Linked DNA regions of Homo sapiens: region 1 is linked to region 2. The links are contacts of gene promoters, found by promoter capture Hi-C in blood cells and fetal thymus (Javierre and others, 2016). All regions are on one chromosome and are shown on one strand. Each heading gives the region's core, a stretch centred on a gene start or on the middle of the fragment in contact. The rest is flanking DNA. Distances are from core to core; before and after follow the strand shown. Region 1 overlaps ARHGAP18 (Rho GTPase activating protein 18). Region 2 holds the start of TMEM244 (transmembrane protein 244).

Region 1 (3,885 bases), core at 1,356-3,855, 260 kb before region 2:
TACATCCCTTCTATATGCCTTCTCCTGGCTCCTCGAGGGTGAGCACCCAGCTCCCTGACTCCCTGGGAACACCTAACATAAAGTGGGGGCCTAGCACCAAGGTGGCAATAGCATTTTGTTGATGAGTAACTGAATTTCACATAAGGAAAGAAAAAAAAAAACTCAAAGAGGTAAAGTTACAGCTAATATGTGATGAAACTGATATTTAAATCCCAAGCTTTAAAATGACAATACAGTTTTTAAATAGTACAGAGATCATTCTCAGACCAGATCATGTCTAACTATGCCAAAGTGCAAACTAAAGAAGTTAATGCTTTTTTTTCCATAAATGACAAAATTACTAAAATATTCCATTTCCAAAAAGTAAACGTTTCAGTTTTTCTAAATATTATTTAAAAGGTACACCCCAAATGTTTCCTTAAGTAGATCCTGAGCTTCAGAATATCACAGCTAAATGCCCTATAAAAAGACAAGACTATAAAGTCACTTAATATGAATAAGAAGGGCTACAAAACAGACTTAATTCACATATTTACAATGGTCTTAGAGGTAACAGAACATTCTAAAGTTAACCAAATGCCAAAAAAAAAGGCTTTCTAAAAGCCTTTAGGATAATATCAAGGCCTTTCTAAAAAAATAAGCATATTTACAACTTCTCTTTATGTTTTTAAAGATATTTAAAACTTGATTTAAAATGTTTTACAATGCCAAGAAAGTATCATTTTTTAAGAGTGAGAGCTATAAATAAATCTAAGAGAAAAACTTCGTTTTTATGATTACTGGATCCATAAGCAGGCCAAAACCGAAAATTCAGACAAAGGCAGATAACTGCATTTTCACATTATTCCACAAGATGTCAGCATGTAACTGAACAACTTCAATGGTGGTGGTAGTAGGGAGGAGGTGGATTCACTTAAATAGAACAATAGAAACCCTTTCATTTCATGAACTTACGCTACAGCTTTGGTAACTTACTTCATAAATGTATATCCATGTATATTTTATTATTGTAAACCCAGTTCTTAATATACTCTTACAGTAGTTTATAAATACAGATATTTAGGTATTTCTTTTTTGAAACATCTTAATTTTTTTCTTTCCAATTTAGCTCTCAAAATTCTTCTGATCAAATTGAGAACCTTCAAATACTTATTAAAGTCCAGGAATAATCCTAGGCACAACACAAACATTAACCTATTTGTCCATCTGGATTAGTTATTTTTCCCCATTCTACAGATGAGAAAAATTTAGAAAAAAATGTCAGTGGTTCACATGATGTTATTTACTCACTATAGATTATATATTCAGTAGGCGACTAGAGTCTCCGCACGAGAGGTAGAGGTAGGGGTAGGGGTGTAGGGGTGTGTGTGTGTGTGTGTGTTCAGTCTTGTCTTGATATCTTCCTTTGTTCCCCATTAACAACTCACATGCTGAGTCACCAACACCTGACCAACTGTCAATACTGATCATTAGCAGCAGTAGTAGGAAGACAGTTACTGATGTCTTTCACTTACAAGTAGCACCACAGCCTAATAAGTGGCAGAAAGTCATACTATGAAAACATTAAATAAAAAATTTTGGTATTAAAAAAATACTTAAGATCTGAATAAATACATATCTCCACTATTTTCTTACATCATTTGTACTCTTATCTTGCTTTTCATATTTTTCTCGGTCATAAGCCATTTTCTTCAGCAATTTCTTCATGGCTCTTTTATCCTTTTTATGATTTTCCGTGTTTTGCTTCCTCACTTGGTTTACAATAAACTTGGGAATCTATAGAGAAAAGGAATTAAGCTTAGAGAGGAAAAAGAAATGCCACCATTTTAAACTACAAAAAAAAATTATATTTTTTTAAATTTCAAAAACAGTAAAGAGTTTCTCTTTTTGATAAGACTGCCATTTTACATGCACTATTCATTAAATCTGTGAAAAGAAAATACTTCATATTATTCACTTACCAGGTGTACAGGGCATCCACGTGGTATAATTTGCCACCCACTGTGGAAGGTTCCAAAAGAGGCTTTGTGAAGTTCAAGGACATAGTGGCCGTTTTCTATGCCAGACTGGAGACCCCCTGAGGTGACGAGCAGTAGAAGCCACCTCCGTAGGTCTTTCCTTTTGCAGCCTCCTACCTACAGCCCTGCTAGCTAACCTCAAGTCCCCTTCTAATAACCAGCTAGCCGCTGCTGTCATGAGAGAAAGAACTCCCCAAGAAACAAGAGCTGATAGGTAGCTAGCAAAAATCCAGAACAAATTTATCCTAAGAAATCACATTAGCAAAAACAAAATATTTTAAGGTATCAAAATGTAACCATGAAATAATTTTGACATTTCAAACATTGAGATTTAATAAATGGACATTAATTTTTTATTAAAAAAACACATTTGAAATCATCTACATCAGTTGTCTTTTTATGGATTATAAAAATAAAGACTTCAGGATCTAAATATCATCACTCTGTCTTTTTAACAAATTAATGTTTGGAAGCTCCTCAAATAAGAGATTGAAATATTCAATATTATAATTTTGCTTGGAATTCCTTTAGGTCATTTTTTCCTAAATGCTTATAAGATGCCTCCTGAAAAATTATAAATTTCATTGGAAAATGAGCACCTAATCAACGAAGCCTCTCATCCACTTCCATCCTCTGATAAGCTGTCAAAACAAGCTCAAAATAAGTGTAAAACAGAGGAAACCATTTTTGAAGATGTTCTCAGTTAATAAGGGTACAAAATGCATGCATCCCTTTCAATAAAGGGTCTATGAAAAAGAACTGAATAATCTGAAACCAAGATAGCATGGGCTTTTAAAAATACAGCAGGCCTAAACACTGAGAAATGGGAAAATAGGCAGAAGTAAATAAAAAGTACTTCTTACAAGGCATGTTTTGACATAATTTTAAAACAGAAATTCACAGGGCCCTCCTTACCTATATGAATAAAATGTTTTTAATATTTTCTGCACTCACAAATTTTAAATGTAAATTAATAAAGCTAATAACAAACATGCAATTTGTTTTTTAAACTACTAAGACCAAAGCATATGATATATACTTACTGTCCACAGAAGTTTTTGGTACTTAATCAATAAGTGCATGGTATTTGCTGTCCCAGCTGCCATTACAAATTCTCGCTGTTCACTGGACTTCAATCCCAATGCATGACACATAAAGAGATTCGGGGCCATGACCATTGCTACATTCATGACTGTCATTTTATTTTTTTCTTTATTATCTATTACTCTTTGGAGAAATTCAAGAAGGGCCTGAAACAGAAATGACTCTTTGAGATTTGTGTCATATATGAAGATAAAAGATTAAAGCACTGTAGCATATGCAATTTTTATTTCATTGAAAAAACAAGTTGTGTATAAGCACAGTCAACTAATCACATCCAGCAGGCCCTGTTACCAAAGCTTCTCCATTTGGTTGATGCTCCCTGAGATGGAAATTTGCTTCTACTAAGGACCATGGTGCTGGGGAATGAAGCAGAGATGGCACATAGCTGAACTAGGGAGCAGAGAGAGGAGTGGGGAAGTGTCAGACCTCTGGCCTATGGGAGTCATGGAGAGCTGAAAAGTAATGTAAAACATCATACAAACATTTGCTTATTTCAGGAAATGCTGTACTTTCCTATGTAGAGATTTTTAAAAATTCCCTCAAAAAGGGTCATTCAACTTCAGTCTCATTTCTTTAAGGCAATCAATATCTGGCTGATGTGGAACTTATAAAGAATGAGCCAGGCACTGGGTATGGTGGTGCATACCTGTAGTCCCAGGCACTGGGCATGGTGGTGTACACCTGTAGTCCCAGATCGGTGGGAGGATCATCTGAGCTTAGGAGTCTGAGTCCAGCCTAGGCAACAGAGAGAAACCCTCTCTCA
Region 2 (3,851 bases), core at 354-2,853:
TTCCCTTGAGTCAGCTTTTCTGTCATTTAAAGTGTACAGATAGGGGGGATTTAATTAGCCCAATGCCTGGCACATTGCATGCACTCAATAAATGTTTGTTGAGTATTCGAGTTATCTCTAGATGAAGGTCACTTTTGCTATTACTATTAATTTATAAGCATATCAGTAATTCTTGTGCTGATAATATTGACAGTGAACAAGCACTTAAAAGAAAAGTTAACTCATAACTTATAGGGATGTATCATGAGAATTCAGATAGTCAACAACCTATCTATTTTGAACATATTCACTATTCTTCTAATGTTCTAAGGCTCTAATTCTACACTTGAAGCTCAGATGATTCTAAGATAGTGAGGAACTGCAGCAACTATCTGGATATTTTCTCTGCAATGCGTGTGTGTGTGTGTGTGTGTGTGTGTGTGTGTGTGTGTGTGTGTCTGTCTGTCTGGTCTGTGTAAGCCCCGACTAAATATAGAGCCCCCATTCTTTGTGTAAGCTACTTAAGAGAAAGGATTTTATCTTCTAATTTTTATCTCTTCAGCAGAAGTTATTATTGCTAGTTCAATCCCAAATCTATACATAAATTACGAAGTTTAATAACCCCTTAAAAATAAGCTTTTTAAAAATATTTTTCCTGAAATAATGTTTTACTGACCTTGAAAATTTTTCTTAGCTGTTGTCATGCTCAACATTTCTCACTGATGACATATGTGGTGATGATGGTAGTGTAAAGAAAAAGCTTGAGGAAATACACACGGTGCTGATATTTTACTAAAATGAATGTAGCACTCACTCATAATTGTAATTTAATTTTTAAGTAAAAATCTGATTTTCCACTATCATTCCCTTAAGTCTGGCTCATTATAGGCCTAAAGCCTGTATGAATTTACACAGCTGCTTTGAGGCTTTGCATATTTCCTTGTTTTCGATTGTTTGATTTTTTTTTAAAGGGGTATTTTTGCACTGAAGTAAAACACAACTATTAACACTAGCCTCGGGGGAAAAAGAAACTAACAAACCTACAGCTTGAAATGTTTCAACACTTTGCATTTAAAATTTTGCGCACCCTTTAGAAGTTACAAAAATAAAAGCCACTCCCTGCAAAAAAAAAAAAGAAAAAAAGATTGAGAACAAACTGTCATGATTTCAGAAAACGATAGCAGACGTGCAGGTGCTAATACCAGAGAGCTTACCTCCGAATAAAATGGTGCCTTCTAAACAGCGACTATTTACATGTTTTAGAATCCTTTCTTGGGCATGGGTGCCTTTATATTGCCCTATTACCACAAGATGCAAGCCGTGCAGCAGAATGTTTTCTGTATGGTACCCAGCCAAAAGTGAAACAAGTTGCCCACTGACAGAGAGGCCATTTATAGAACATATTCATTTACACCAGTGCTAGGCAGCAACTGAAAGGCAATGCAAAGAAGTAATTTCTCTTTACCTTGCTTGGAGCAACTCTGACCTGGAGAGCCATGTACACATCCTACGTCAAGGAGGTGATGAAAGCCCCACTCCTTATAGCGATGACATCTGGAAGAAGACACAATTGTCACCGTGAGCTTTTCAATTACTCCTGGAGACTAAGTGTGAGACGCAGTAGTGCAGGATGATTGGATTACGCAAAACGAGACAGATGCCATCTGTGAGCCACGCGTAAGCTGCTAAGTGCCAAAATGAACATCCTTATTAAACGATGGAGTTCTCATACCATTTGTAGTTTGGTCAGATTTGAAAGATGAGTTGATTGTTTTTAGATAGTGCGGCAAATAGGCAGGGACTTGGAATCCTCTCTGGCTGTATGAGTAATTACTGTCTCATACTTAAATTAGAAACATGGGTTTTCAGTTAGGTCTTGAGATTGTTTCCAAAGGATGCTGCTGCATTCATGTTGAAGCGTGGCCTGTCCTCTCTGTTTCACTCACAAGGGCCACAGAGTTCTGAGAAAGAAATCATCAGTTCCTTTCACATCATGGCAAAGAAATGTAAAACTTATGACTTTTTGTTAGGAAACAAAAGGGTTCCCATACTCTAAAATAATGGCCACAATATTGTGGGTAGAATGTTTTCAAGAACTGCCAGGAGGCAGTATTGGAGCTCTGTCTCTCTGCGTCCTGAGGCTCCAGAACCAATCCTTCATTTACAATTCATTCTCCCATCTTTTTACTGGCACCAACTCTATTATTATTTTTATTTTAATTTTTAATTGCTGTGATTACATAGTAATATAGTAATATACCCCATAGAGTTTATGGGGTACATGATATATTTTGATATAGGCATCTAATATGTAATGATCACATCAAGGTAAGTGGGATTTCCATCACCTCAAGCATTTATTCTTTGTGTTACAAGCAATCCAATTATACCCTTTTAGTTATTTTTAAATGTACAATTAAATTATTATTGACTATAGTCACTCTGTTGTGCTATCAAATACTAGATCTTATACATTCTCTCTCTTTTTTGTATGCATTAACCATCCCCACACTCCCCCTTTTCTCCCACTACCCTTCCCAGCTTCTGGTAACCATTCTTTTACTTTCCATCTCAATGAGTTCAATTGTTTCCATTTTTAGTTCCCACAAATAAGTAGGAACATATGAAGTTTGTCTTTCTGTGCCTGGTTTATTTCACTTAACATAAGGACCTCCAGTTCCATCCATATTGTTGCAAATGACAGGATTTCATTCTTTCCTTTGGCTGAATTCTATTCTGTACCTGTACCACATTTCTTTATCCACTTGTCTGTTGATGGACATTTAGGTTGTTTCTTAATCTTGGATATTGTGAAACATGCTGCAATATACATGGGCATGCAGATACCTCTCCGATAGACTGATTTCCATTCTTTGGGGTATATGCTCAGCAGTGGGATTGCTGGATCATATGGCAGTCCTATTTTTCTCTTTTGAGGAACCTCCAAACTGTTCTCCATAGTGGCTGTACTAATTTACATTCCCACCAGCAGTGTATGAGGGTGTCCTTTTCTTCACATCCTCACCAGCATTTGTTATTGCCTGTTTTGGGATAAAAGCCATTTTAACTGGGGTGAAGTCATATCTCTTTGTAGTTTTGATTTGCCTTTCTCTGATGATCGATGATGTTGAGCACTTCTCACATACCAGTTTGCCATTTGTATGTCTTGTTCTGAGAAATGTCTATTCAGATATTTTGATCATTTTTAAATCATATTATTAGATTTTTTCCTCTACAGTTGTTTGAGCTCCTTATATATTCTGGTTGTTAGCCCCTTGTCAGATGGGTAGTGTTTGAGTATTTTTTTTCCCATTCTGCGGGTTGGTGTCTTCACTTTGTTGATTGATTGCTTTGCTGTGGCACCAACTTTAGATGGGAACTTAGCTGTGCCCTGTAATCCTTTTTCCATTACAGCATCTTGTTAACCGCTATAAAGAGCACATTCTGCAATATCTACCTGCATACCAAAAGCAAAGGTGAAAAGAGTGCCTTCAGCAAGTCCAGGCCTTGATAGTTTTCATCTGAATATGTTATTGAATTTGACATTCATAATGCATATTAATAACACTGTCAATGCTCTTTTATTAATATACCTTAGATAAATCTTTTAATGTGTGGTTGCCCTGTTCTCTGCTTATATTGTGAGTTCTTGCAGAAAAAGACTTTTCTGCCTGCTGGTAACATTGTAACAGCTCCCAGTGTTGTCTTCAGATTTCAGCACACGGTGGACCCTCAGTAAATGCTGATTGTCCAAATCCCATGCCCTGCCCTATTTGTAACAGTGATGACCCAGAATTTCTCCTTAAAGAGGGCAGGCGGAGGCCAGGTGTGGTGGCTCATGCCTGTAATCCTCGCACTTTGGGAGTCAGAGG

Evidence for each region. Contacts are between HindIII fragments. The CHiCAGO score rates a contact against its expected background, and 5 or more counts as called.
Region 1: a fragment that was not itself captured here is called in contact with the fragment with the promoter of TMEM244 in region 2 in 1 of 17 cell types (erythroblasts); the score reaches 5.0 in erythroblasts.

What each region holds. Positions count from the first base shown.
Region 1 is chr6:129,597,581-129,601,465 of GRCh38, forward strand. It overlaps ARHGAP18 (Rho GTPase activating protein 18), which reads right to left. Exons shown (of 15, transcript NM_033515.3): 11 at 3,062-3,268; 12 at 1,636-1,776. Among named protein-coding and RNA genes, the nearest start is that of ARHGAP18, 110 kb to the right of the region's middle. RefSeq lists an enhancer at 1,284-1,578. The HindIII fragment of the contact is 1,621 bases long and covers 1,796-3,416 here.
Region 2 is chr6:129,859,712-129,863,562 of GRCh38, forward strand. It overlaps TMEM244 (transmembrane protein 244), which reads right to left and starts at 1,604. Exons shown (of 5, transcript NM_001010876.2): 1 at 1,445-1,604. The coding sequence starts at 1,477. All of the region lies in intron 2 of LOC105377999 (a long non-coding RNA gene), which reads left to right. The HindIII fragment of the contact is 8,219 bases long and covers 738-3,851 here.